2 separate regions of the Homo sapiens genome follow, and region 2 is linked to region 1. Evidence: promoter capture Hi-C in 16 types of primary human blood cells and fetal thymus (Javierre and others, 2016). All regions are on one chromosome and are shown on one strand. Each heading gives the region's core, a stretch centred on a gene start or on the middle of the fragment in contact. The rest is flanking DNA. Distances are from core to core; before and after follow the strand shown.

Region 1 (6,668 bases), core at 3,194-5,693:
GTTCCTTCCCTACAGAGCCTTCGGAATGGACTTCTTAAGTCAAGCGACTGGAGAACAAAAATATGGGGAGATCACCTTTGTCTAAGGACAGTGGGGCAGTCGCCTTGCCCTCCCCCACTATCACTGAGGGGGGAATGCAGCTGGGAGAGGCGGGTGAAGGGTGAAGGGGCATCCCCCCACATGAATATTTACAACGGTTCCAGATTTCTCTTCCACCCGCCGGCATCCCGGAAGCCTCCTCAGCCCGCCTCCCTGGGGGAGAACCCCCAGGCCTTAAAAGCGTCCCCCCTTCCCCGCCGCCCTCTGAGTTCCCAACTGATTGAATGCCAGATGAAGCTGTTTTTTTCTCGTTTTAAAACTGTTTTCTTGGTCAAGAGGCCCGCTTGGACTGCAGCATTTCAGAGGACACATTTGTCTTTCTGAAGGGAATGTTGAGCACTCAGATTTTAGCGTCCTTTCTCTTCGGCTTTTTTTTTTTTTTTTTTTTTTTAACAAATTTCCTAGTGGTTCCAAATCTCTGCGGGAACCCGGGCTATGGAAGGAGACACCAGAGTCTTTGTATTTGTGTGAAATAGCAAACGGGATAGATTTGGAAAAGACTGCTGAACCAAGAGATACGCTTTTATATTTAGAATAATTTAATTTTCTTTGAGGAGTGATCTCCATGAATATCCCCTCCCCCCACTCATCCCAGGCTAAAGGGAAAGAACACGATGATTTAATGATATATTTTGGAAAGAAACGGCCTCCGTGTTTTCTGTCTTAAGGCCTGGATCTGAGTTCATATGCTTTCCTCCTCCTTTCCCCAGCCTTCCGAGCGCTCAGTGCGGCTTCAGCCTTTGTTCAGTTGTTTTTGAGGAGGCAAACCTCTGAATGCAGACTCAGACTTGGAGATCCTGCTCTGGGTACCATCGCCTCTATGTGCCCAGCCAGGTGGAGAATCCTTTTGAGCCATAGGGCCTTGGCAGCTCTTGCTTCTTTCTCTCCTATTGAATATATATACATATAGGTATATATAGTTGTGTGTGTGTATACAATTAAAGAACAATTAAAAATTTCAATTATACACCAAATTTGCTTCTGGGAAAGGGAGTTGAAATGTTGAATATTCAGTGTTAGTGATTTAGTGGTTTTGCTAATTCTTCCTCTAGCTAAAAGCTAGTTTCCACCTCCACCAGCTAGGAGCTTGTTTTTGCAAGAAAATGAGTAGCAAGCAGGCCCTGAATTTCCTGGACTAAGCTAGAGGTTCAGATGGACTAGGGAGTTTTGAGGCCCCATTTCCCAAGGGAGTCTGCTGGGCGCCTGGTAAACCTGCTGGTATCAAGGATTTAGCAGGACATAGCCGGTTCCAGAGAAGTCAGACCAAAATTCGGTGGAGACAGACGTTTTGTTTTGACATCTGAAGAACCTCAAATCTTTACAGACCCCGAATACCAGCAAGCTTTAAAATTTGAGAATTTAGGCTAAGTGTGGAAGTCCCAGCTTGCAACAAGCTGAGAGTCCCCTTAATGTGTGAGACACACTCAGATCTGCCATGGTCCTTCCCTTTTGGATATTCCAAACATATTTGGTTTGTAGGCTTTTACACACCATTTCCTGACTGCCTCGGAAGCCATTTTCTCATTTAACGAACAGTCAACACTCGCGGTGAAACAATAACCAGAAAAGAAAAACGAATTTGGTGGCCTGAAAAACATTAAGGTGGAATCCAAAACATTTTGAAAAATTGACTTCAGCTCCTTGACAGCTTGGCTCAGACCTGGATATTTATTTTCACTCAAAACATTTGTATATATTGTGTCTGATATATACAAGCTACTGTTTTTGACAAAATCAAAACAAAACATGCATGATAACTATTAGATAGCCTAGAAAATGAAATTAGTTTAAATATCAACTGAAGTCAGTTGGGCTAAGGCTCAGGGCTCTCTGTGAGGGGCCCACTCCAGATTTAGGGCCAGGTCCTGCACTGAAAAGAAATCACTGGACTTTGGGAAGGAATCCTGAATCCTTGAGTTGTTGTGCATCATGCTAGGAATTGCGAAGGAGGAGTGCTACATGTCAGAAGGAGAGGGGAGAAGAGGCAGGGATAGTGGAATGAGCTCGCAGGGGGAGGCTTGGTTCACTGAGATTAAGGCGGGACACTCCAGTACACCCAGAACAACTCCACCTGGCATTTGGGAACCCCTGCCTCCATGAGGCAAGCCTGGCAGGGCCCAGGGCCTTAAAGTCTCCACTGGGACAGGCCAGACATGCCTCAGAAGGGGCACAGTAGCTGGGCCTCTGGTAGAGTTGGCAGATGGTAGAGACGGTGAGAGGAACTTCTGGTCCTCTTTGCTTTGTCAAGAGCAGCTAGCGGGGCAGAGAATCTAAGAGACTTCCTTCCCCTCCCCTTGACTCTTGAGAAGGATTTTTGCCTATCCTTATGGGGTTCCATTAAGGTAATTGAAGAAAGAAAGATGCACCAACACCTTTACTCACCTCAACTGGAAAGCCATATTTACAGTTGGAGTGCAGCACCCCTCCTCCTCTTATTCACTCCCTTCTCCTCCCCTGGATATTTTTCCCTCTCCCTGTGCAACAGAGCTTCAAAGCAGACCAACAGCTCCTTTCACCAGAGCTAGCCTCTGGGGATCCAGTTACAGGGTTCATAGGCCTGGCCTAGGCATGTTTGAGAAGGTGGGAGTAGGGCAATGTTTGCCAGTCTTGTCTGGAGATGGCACTTGTCTGGAGTCCCAGTCTCTCTCATCCCATCTCAGGAAATGAAGGTTCCACATATTCTACCCAGCTGGAAATAGGCCAGCCTATTTCGCATTTCTCATTTCGAGATATCTCCAAGTTTACCCCACTACCCAGCCCCTCCCCTTCCCTCCCTTTTCCTCCCAAAGTCTGAAGATCTAGTGTGGCTTTTGTTCTCTCAAATCAGCCAGGGCAGACAGGAGGGTGGAGGGTGGATGGTGCCCTTTCCTTTCTCCAGAGTGAAGATCCTGGCCTTGCCACAAAGGGCTTCTGCTGCAGAGACCTAATTGTACCCACAGTCCTTTCCATTCCCTCAGGAGGCCTTCCACTCTGAGCCCTAACTAGGCGACTGCTATACGCTGAAGGGGCTGGAGAGAGGGGGAAAGGGAGAACGAATTGGGTGGAAACAGAAAAATCCAGGTACCGGGGAGCAAGAATGAGCGGTGGGTGCAAATGCCCCAGCCAGGAGCAAGGAGAGTTGGCCTCAGTCCCCCAACGTGGAAGCCTTAAGGCCAGCCAGAGTTGCACTGGTACTTCCGCACGTTTCTCACGGGCTTCTCAGGGACTGAGGAAAGCAAGGAGGCCCAACTGGCCTGGTCTGTAAATCTCTTGGTGGCTTCTGGGGCCAGCAGAGAAGGAACCGAAGGAAAAGCCTTAGCCTTAGCCCCAGATCCCCCTCCCCAAACAAGGCCTCTGTCCAAAAGGGCAGATCCAACCCGGCCCTGGCCACGCGCGCGGCTAGTAGAGCGCCAGCGCCTGCTCCCGAAGCACCACGCGCTTCTTCTTCATACGCCTGTTCTGGAACCAGATTTTGACTTGCTGGTCGCTGAGGTTCAGCCTATTGGACAATTCCTTGCGTTTCTGCCTGTTGATGAATTCGTTGACGAGGAATTCGTTCTCCAACTCCGCAATCTGCTGCTTCGTGTAGGGTTTCCGCTTCTTGCGGGCCCTCCCCGGGGCCGCCCCCCACGGCAGGCCTGCAACACAGCCCCAACCCACGTCAACCCAGCCCGTACTCTGTCTATTGCCCGCCCCCAGGCGGTTCACCTCCCCTTACACTCTCCCTTGAACCCCACCTCCCATCCCGGCCCAAACCGGCCCGGGGAGCATGGGCACCGTTTACCGTCGGGCAGTGAAGGTCGCAGGCAAGAGGCAACGCCCGCCGCCTGCACTGTCATGTTCAAGTTGAGCGGGCCCTTGGTGTCGTCCTTGAAGCCAGGGGCGCAGGGAGCCCCCTGGAGCAGGGTCGTGGAGCCCGGCGTGGCACGACCCACACCAGCGTAGTCATACTTGGCCGCTTTGAGAGCAGCCACTGCAGGAGCCAGGCTAGACTCGGGGGCGAAGGACGGCCGGGTACGACCGCGCTCCTCTGGCCCAGCGGCCGCTTCGGGCGCATAGAACTTAGCCTGCTCTTCGGGTCCGTCTTTGGCTGTTGGGGGCTGCAGGCCGAGAGGCCCGGAGCCAGCCAGGTAGGGCTGCGAGAAGCCGCCGAAGGCAGTGGCGCCCGCAGGCTGCGCGGGGGCGCAGGAGGCGGGCGTGGCGGCCCAGGGCAGCGCGCCGCGCGGGTAGGAGATAGGGGGAAGCGCGGCCAACTGGCCGCCATTCGGCCTCAGGTTGGAGAAGTAGAAAGAGTCTGGCGACTGCAGATTCAGAAGCGAGCCCACATAGCCCGCTCTGTAGAGACTGCGCTCACACATCTCCAACAAAGGGCTTCGGCTGCGCTCGCAACAGTATTTAGTTACAACCGGGAATAAGAGGACAGGCTCAGACGATTGGACGAAACTTTGCCTGCAGGTTCTTCAAAGCCGGTCATTTCAGCACCGCCTACATCCCCCCGACCCGTTTTCCCCCCCTTCAGAGTATTATGATAACACCCGCAATGTTCGATGGCGAAGGACGAGGCTGCCAGCAGAGCCAAATCAGGTTGAGCGAAGACTAACTGTCTGCGGGTTTCCAGGCCCGGCTTCAGCAGCTGGGGACATCGGGCAAGAGGGTGACTCTGCCCAAGTGTCCCCTGGGACTCTTCTTGGTCGTGATTGGCTTTGCGATTCGTTTTCCGCAGGCTTTCTGGGCCCGGCTTGCTTCTACCGGCTTTAAGTTGCAGCGGAGGCATTTTCCATTAACCGGCGCCTCTCGACTTATCCGGAGAGGGCGCGGTCCGGCGGCACCAGGAGCTCTGTCCCTTGGCCTGAGCAATGTCACTTTTACCCCAATCACTCCCACAGAGAGGGTTTCTCCAGAGACCTCTGCCTGAGGATCTGGCAGCAAAGACCCATTCGCTACTTGAGCCCTCAGTCCCAGGCCGCAGACACAAAAAGGGCATCACAAACTACCCAATTTTGGGATCCAGGAAGGAGGCCACACTATTTCTGGTTTGTGTCCCCATGGCTAAGAACTCTGATCATAGGGAAATTGCCATACAGGTCCATGGAGAATGTCCGCCAGGGAACCCATCAGCTCGATCCACCAATCGTGGCCAAAGGCTACATTCCTTTTATCTTCAGGAGTCCTCTCCAGGACTACACACTGCAAACCAGAACTCCGAGGTGTCCCCATCCACCAAGTGGAGGGCAAAGCAGGACGAACTCCCCCGACTGGGTGTGGAAAGGCAGAAGAGCCAGAACCACCTGGCCGGGGAACAGCGGGCGTTCGGAGGCAGCTGGCTAGCAGAGTTCCTTGCCTCAGCGCCCCCAGGGGTGCCGGGGATAGGGAGTTCACGGGTCTGACAAACAGGGAAGTGGGAAAGGCAGCAGTTCTTAGCCGGGAGCGGTGTGCTCAGACCCCGTCGCTGGCCCTCTTGCCTAGTCCGGCCAGAGGACTAGGGGTCCTCCCCTCCTGCCTCTGATCCCAAGACCCTGGGAGACCCGGTGACCGGCGCCAGTCTCAGCCTGCAGCAGGACCCTCGGTCTCCGAGCCAAGCTGGAATTGGTTAGATCGCGGGCTCCTGCACTGAGACCACACAGGCGCCGCCGGAGGGCAAGACTGACCGCCGCGCTGCCACTTTATTGTGTGAGTTATGGCGACCAATTGGGTGGCTCTGGGGAACGCAATCGGCCTCTTCCTCCTGCTCTGGTGGGGGGGAGAGAGGGAGTGAGGACGGGGGGGTGGGGATGTCTGGGGCTCCTCTGGCTCTGCCAGAGAGTTTCCTTAGGAGCCCAGGCATAGAGACTCACTCGCTCTCGTCCTCTCTTGGGAGGTGGGGGCAAGCACAAACTGCAATCCCAGTTCCTAGATACTCAAGGGAATACAAGCCTCAGATCCCTAAGAGCTCTTATTTTGGGGAACCCATCCTATTTTCGAGGAGCTGCAGCTTCGTTACTCCCGAAAGCTCCAGCTCCAGGGGTCCCTGCAGTCTCTCCTCACGTTTCAGTGCACGACGATTCCTCGTTATTTCCAAGCCGAGGGGTGTCTCTTTCGGACCTTTAGGCAGCCCTACAACAGCTGTTTGCGCCTCAGGACTAAAGGCATAAAAGAACTCAGTGAAAAACAGGAAAAACAAGAACAACTAGGTTCCCTCCATTGCTCCTTGGACAGTCTTCCCACTTCATCCCCCGGGTTTATGACTTTCGAGGTCTGGCAGGCAAAGTCTTATGCGAGCTGGGGAACCTGATCGAGGGAGGATCGGGGTGGAAAGTAGTGGCGGGAGAGTGGCTTGGCTGGTGATTAAGAGAATGGAACAGGATTTGGCTGAGGAGCGAATAGAGAGCTCTGCCAATGCCGCCCAATGCCCAGGAGATGGCGAGCGCGCTCCATGCCTATCGGGGCGCAGCCGCACGGTCAAGATCAACAGTGAAGGGCGGTGCGGCCTCCCTGGGGTCGCCAGCCCGCTTTCAGACGCAGCCTAGCGCCTCCGAAAGCCGGAGATCTTGGCGGCAAGGCCGCCCCTGACAGCGGAGCCAGAGGGACCCAGGGGGCTGCCAGAGGCGGGG
Region 2 (6,524 bases), core at 3,700-6,199, 470 kb before region 1:
ACACACCGGGGCCTGTTGTGGGTGGGCGGAGAGGGGAGGGATAGCATTAGGAGATATAACTAATATAAATGATGAGTTAATAGGTGCAGCACACCAACATGGCACATGGATACATATGTAACAAACCTGCACCTTGTGCACATGTACCCTAGAACTTAAAGTATAATAAAAATAAAAATAAAAATAAAGCAGTGTGCACAAAAGGTGAAGGTCCCGTCTGAAACGGGAGTGGGGAGGCTGCTGAGACTCACACGCAGCCTCCACCCATCATTCTCCCCAACTCTAGCCTAGCTCCTAACATAACCTCCTGATGTTTTTTACTTTCTTATTTCTCAGTTCTCTCTGGGTATTGACATATCCCCCCATGGACTATAAGCTCCTTTGAAGTCAGGGACAGTATTCCAGGAATCACTGTCATCTTCCTGTAGTATCAGGGGGAGGAGGGGGTCAATAAATGTGTGTTCAAAAATACTTTTTAAAAGGCTTAGGACTATTTGTAAGACAGAGTTGAGAGTATATAACAAAGCCCCTGAAGAGAAAGCACATACATGAAAAGATCATTATAATTTCAAGTAGCACTGCAACAGCTGCATGAAGGAGAAAGTCAAAGTCACGCAGGCCCGAGTTGGAAAAGGAAGGATTTATAGAAGGTCTATACTTCTAACTAGTCCTGGAAGTGAGTAAGACTAAGACAAGAGGAGGAATAGAAGGGCATATGAGGCAGGACACATGGTGTGACAAGACAAGGGACCATTTCAGGAAAGCAAAGGATCGGTGTAGGGAAATTAGGAGATTAAATGGGAGAGGATATTTCATGTCAGATGGTAGACATTGGTCCTTGTTGCCAAGCTGAGGAGTTTGAACTTTATCTTATAGGAAATGGGGAATCCATTGAAAGTTGTAGGAGACAGTTACAAACATATACCTTGCAAATACTATTTGCTACACTCTTTGCTGTGAAATCTGTGTCACTCATTGATAATGCCAGAGGCTGTTATCAGTCAGGAGATTACTAGACAGTAGAATTATCTGGACAATAGTTTCCATCTTCCTGGCAAATAGGTTATACAGGACAGACTCAAAAGCCTTCTTATCTATGAATTATTGTTTCCTGCTAACAATCGTATTTGATTTGAAGGAAAATTTTTCCATTACTTTTCCAGAGACAGAAATTAAGATTACAGTCACTCTTTTATCCTTCATTTTTGACCTCAAGGGCAGAGGTCTATAATAATCCTACACCTCTTTGTATAGCATATCATCACATAACTCCACAAAAAATCCTTCTCATATTTCATTATTTTTTTCCTCCTCACTCAGATCCTCATCCCCATTCTTCTCACCCTCATAACAGTCAATTTAATATTTTGATGTGTGCATATATTTTCATATATCTACTGTTTTTGTACTCAACAAATTTTTATATTTGTTTTTAAAATTTAGACAAATGGAATTTTAAATATCATTCTCTCTTTATCACTCATAATTTTGCTTTAAAAATTTACCCATATTGCCATATTTACATAAAAAATATTGCCTCCACCAGCTGCACGGTATTCCAGACTGCGACAACCCAGTGTACTGATCCATTCCCCTGGTAGAAGGCATCAAGTTTGATTCCCCATTATCACAAATAATGCTAAAAAGACATTGGCATATATGATCCCTTTGTGAAAATTTCTCTGGGATATGTGTTCAGAAGTGGGATTGCAGTAGTAGGGTGACTATATAATTTATTTTCCCAAGAACATCCTGGAAAATGAAAACGGCACTATTAATAATTATGTCAGAACCTCAGACTTTCCCTGCTACCCTGAGTAAGAAAGGGCCTCTTGTCACCTTAGTCTTATGACATACTCATACTTAATTTCATCAAGATTGTCAGGTTGCTTTCTGAAATAATCATACTCATTTCCTCTTCCCTCAATAACGAAAGAGTTTTCACAACCCCTCATCCTTGCAAACACTTGGCATTATTCAGTTTTCTAAACTCTGATGTTCTCATGTGTCTAGAGTAGCCAATTGTTCTGCTTATCAATGAATTTGAACACCCCATCCAACACCAGTTCATCATTTGAGCTTCATACTGTTTGCATATATTTCTATGGTGTTTCCTGTTTATTTCTGGTCAATTTGCAGGAGCTTTTTATAGATTCTAGATATTAATTGTGTCAGGTTTTTTTTTTTTGTCAAAGTCGGTTTTAAGCATTGCAAACATCTTCTCCTAGTCTATCATCTGTCCACTAATGTGATGAAGCTTATGGTTTACTGTTGCCAGGGTCATCATTTTCTCTTCAAATAAATAAATAATATAAATTTAAATAATAGATTAACAATTCTCTTTAAATCTATAGGAAGATATTATTATCTTCTTCCCCAGTCTCTGGCTGACTGTCTAGCTCTTTGCACATTCTTTTTTAAACAATGATAAAGTCTATAATGACTTTAGGCAAGTCACTGCCATCCCTCATGACAGTGGTTCTTAAACTGAACGTCACCTGAACCACATGGGGTGGGGCCAGACTCCGCATCTTTAACCAGCTACCCAGGGAATGCTGATGCTGAAATCCAACAGCCCCATGTAAAGACACATGGCCTAGCATACAAAACACTGGGGCCAGCAACATGGGATAATAGTGCTGAAAGAGAGCTTGGAGATTCCCTAGTTCAACCCCCGCACACACATTCCAAGTCTTGAGAGGACAAGCACCTTGACCAAGAGGCCAAAGCTTCAGGCCTCCTGCCTGATGCCAGGCCGGGGCTCTTGTCATCACAACAGGCAGGACGTGAAATACCTCTCTTACTCCAGTGCTTCCTTATTGACATATCCTAATCAGGAAGAATCATTCCATTTCATATACTGTATAGTGAGCCCTGTTTTCGTTTTACTGTTGAATTTTTATCCAAGGCTTCGGGTGGCAAAAAGATAAAATGCTTTCATCTTAGGATGTCATTATTATCAGCACGATCTAATTTAGGAGAGCAACATGCTTACTTCTTGCATTTTCAACATTTTTAAAGTAAAGCAAAAGATCCTCCTCCCTTGTCATGAATAGCATCTCTGAAAATAGTCCACCAAACCTCCAGAGTCCAGTGCAAACAAAACTCGGCTCCATGGCATCCCCCTGTTTCGTATTCACATGATGCAAAACACATGGGCCAAATTTATGTCACCGCAATTTGCCTGGCAGCGAGCATTTAAATCACCAAGGTTTGCAGCTCCACGTTTTAGGATGTTGTTTGCAATCCTGTAGCCAAGAGCTCTGAAGGAACAAGCTCACATGAAGGGTCGTTAGCCAGCCGGATGTGATGGGGCTGTTTTAGCAGAGAACTAATTAGTATGCTGCAAGGTATCTGCATATCTCTCAAATAGACATTGTTTGTGTCTTTCCTCAGTGACAGGGGGAGATTGTTCAGTAGAACACCTTACCTTTTAATATGCGGGGTTTGTTAGAAGAACAGCTCAATTCATATTTCCCCTGGTTTGATGGTAAGTGAACAGCAGTGGCAATATTAATCTGTAGTAACCTGTCAGTGAACTCTACAGCTAATATGATGTAGTTATGATTTTACCATCAATCAGGACTGAACAGGCTCTGGGCAATCCTTACAGCACAGCCTCAAAAAATCTAATTGTGCAAAAGCTTCATTGGTTTCCAACATTTCTTTTTATCTGTCACAGGCTTTAGGCCTAATACACAACCTTTTATTATTGGCCTTATTGCATTAGCTTGTCGGACAAAGAAGAAAAGGCTAAAGCAGAGAGTTCCCCTGCATTCCATCATTTGTTTGCATGCAGGATTTTATTTGACAGTCCTGTATTGTTTTAGATGTAGATAAAAATTATTCAGACATATGGCATCATATGAACTTTTGAACTGCCAATTGCCAATGTGTCCTAAAGGACTGGAGGCATTTACAAATTCTGCTCTACCTACAAAGACAGAAATGCTATATGGACGAGCCAATAAGGTCTCCTGGGGGAACTGTATTTTAGAATCAACATAATCTTGCATGTTCTCCTTGACCAGTTTTTATGCAGGGGAGGAGTAAAATTGAGAGATGGAACATTAGCAACTGAGATGATTTTTAGCCAAAATGAAGGTTGAATATTTGAGAAATTAAAATGGAAAAACAGTTCACTTTCTCTGAGAACCCGCATGCACAGCATGAAGTAGTATGGAGCCACATGGTGTCCCTTCGTCCCTTCATGTGCAGAATATTTTTCTGGGTGTCTGAGATGCAGTGAGATTCAGTTCCAATGAGAACATGTGCATAAAACACAAATCCACATCAAAGTAGCTCCAGCCTTGAGACTACTGGGTTGGAAGGAACTGTAAGACTTAAAACATATAAAAGCATTTAGGAAGATGAACTATTAACTTTATCTATTTAGGCATTTTAATCTTTTGCATCTTAAATGCAATTGGGCTTTTGGAACTGGGAAATTGCTAATCAGCATGTTGGGTAAATGTTTCTATTTTAAAATGTGCACATTTAGAAATAACAGCTGGCCATAAAGTACATATTTATGTTTGTGATTTAATGTATCACAAACTTTATACTTTATTTCATTCAGCTTCACAAAGAGACCACGCTATTTTTTTTGCAAGCATTATATAACTTTTGCAGCAGCTTTATGACTCAAGAAACACATACAGCAATAAATCAGATATGTATACAATGCCTAGTTTTTCAAATTTGAAATGTCTATTAATGAAAAAATGTAAGGATTATATCCATCTCTTACACTGTCCTAACTCATTTAAAGATTCGACTGAAAATTCCTGTCCATTAATCAGGAAAAATCTGCACAGAATTATACCGATTGTCATTTGAAACACTGCACCCTTGCTTCAAAGGAAACATATTGTGACTAAGGGCACAACAACAGCACAACTGAGTGTTAACCCTTCACAAACCAGCGTGCACATTGTCTACAACCTCATAAAAATAGCTACACAAAATAAGGAAATAGCTATGGCATCCTGCGGTAAGTGTGCAGGAACACGCCTTGGGACTACTGAGGTGGCTGCTGGAGGAGAAAGATGAAAACAGGATGTTAAATGGTTGCAGCAGTGGTGGCAGCTTTGAGAGTTCTCTGGCCCCATCTTCATCGTTAGATGAGCTTTTTCTTAAAAAGGTGGTCTCTAGAGGGTTCTTTTCAAATATTTAAATCTAAATGATCTTAAGGAAGACCACCTGAAAACATCCCAGCTTTGTCAGACCTCTTATAAATTTATAGCTTCTAAGGTAAGCCTTCCTGACAATGTGGCCAGCACGCCACTCACTAGTGAAGGCCTTTGTCAGTGCAGGAAAATGTTTGCATTTGTCAGAGTAAGTTTAGTTCCAAGGTATCATAGCTAAAAAGAGCATTGGATTCTCTTGTGCTGTCCTTGGCAAGAAAAACATGACAGAGAATGTCCATATGAGCAGTTTCAAAATTTAAAAACTAGAAAAGACTGTGAAACTAAATAACTATTGAAAAATGGGAAATTTAGGGTGGGGCATGGTGGCTGATGCCTGTAATCCCAGCACTTTGGGAAGCCAAGGCAGGCGTATAGCCTGAGGCCAGGAGATCGAGACCAGCCTGGGCAACATGGTGAAACACTGTCTATACTAAAATACAAAAAATTAGTCGGGTGTGGCGGCATGTGCCTGTAGTCCCAGCTACTCAGGAGGCTGAGGCAGGAGAATTGCTTGAACTCAGGAGGTGGAGGTTGCAGTGAGCCAAGATCGCACCAATGCACTCCAGCTTGGGCAACAGAGCAAGACTCTGTCTCAAAAAAAAAAAAACAAGGGGGGGCGGGAGGGATTTATACAGTCTAACGCAGCTATTGCTTAAAATACATATAAATATATCTACAAAATTATTAAAATTAAAAAATGCCTACAGACACATGGATAATATACATGTCATTTTCAAGTCAAATGATAACAACAGTGAAAGTTCTCTCCAGAAATAAAAAATGCTAAGCAACTGAAAAAATGTTATTTCTTCAACATTCTCCTTGGACAAAAGGAGAATGGGATAAAAGGTAACTGAATTCATCTTATGAATGTCTTTAAAACTGTAAGTTGAGAAAATATGTCTTTCAAAAGAGTTGACAGAAAACAAGGGCAAAAGGTTCATAGAAGAAAATGTAAAGTGAAGACATGGGGGCAGAATGGTGAAATGTTTTTATAAAGGACTACCTAATCATAGTGACAAAGGTAGATTCAGAATTATTGGGGAAGAAAGGAGAAAAGCTTAGAAAGCCAACACATTAATTAGTAAGTTTGAAACATAGATAATAAATATTATTAAATAAATTGTTTATATGTTCAAACATCTATCTATATATGTATATACTGTATGTAATATATTTTACCATTTTATGCTAACAAAGAATTTTTCTAGCAAAATATTACCAGCGTATCTTAGGTACATATAATTTTAGTGGATTTCATCCCCCTTGAGAATATGTTCTAGATCCCAGAGAATTTAATACAGTTTCATCTAATTTATGTTTTTAAAAATATAC

Evidence for each region. Contacts are between HindIII fragments. The CHiCAGO score rates a contact against its expected background, and 5 or more counts as called.
Region 2: a contact is called between a fragment that was not itself captured here and the fragment with the promoter of HOXD12 in region 1, in 1 of 17 cell types (fetal thymus). The highest score is 5.4, in fetal thymus.

Annotation. Positions count from the first base shown.
Region 1 is chr2:176,097,570-176,104,237 of GRCh38, reverse strand. It overlaps HOXD12 (homeobox D12), which reads right to left and starts at 4,443. Exons shown (of 2, transcript NM_021193.4): 1 at 3,863-4,443; 2 at 1,749-3,716. The coding sequence starts at 4,436. The coding sequence ends at 3,478. RefSeq lists enhancers at 1-88, 3,856-4,588, 6,130-6,668. The HindIII fragment of the contact is 6,365 bases long and covers 1,444-6,668 here.
Region 2 is chr2:176,571,804-176,578,327 of GRCh38, reverse strand. No RefSeq gene overlaps it. Among named protein-coding and RNA genes, the nearest start is that of MIR1246, 26 kb to the left of the region's middle. The HindIII fragment of the contact is 2,605 bases long and covers 3,647-6,251 here.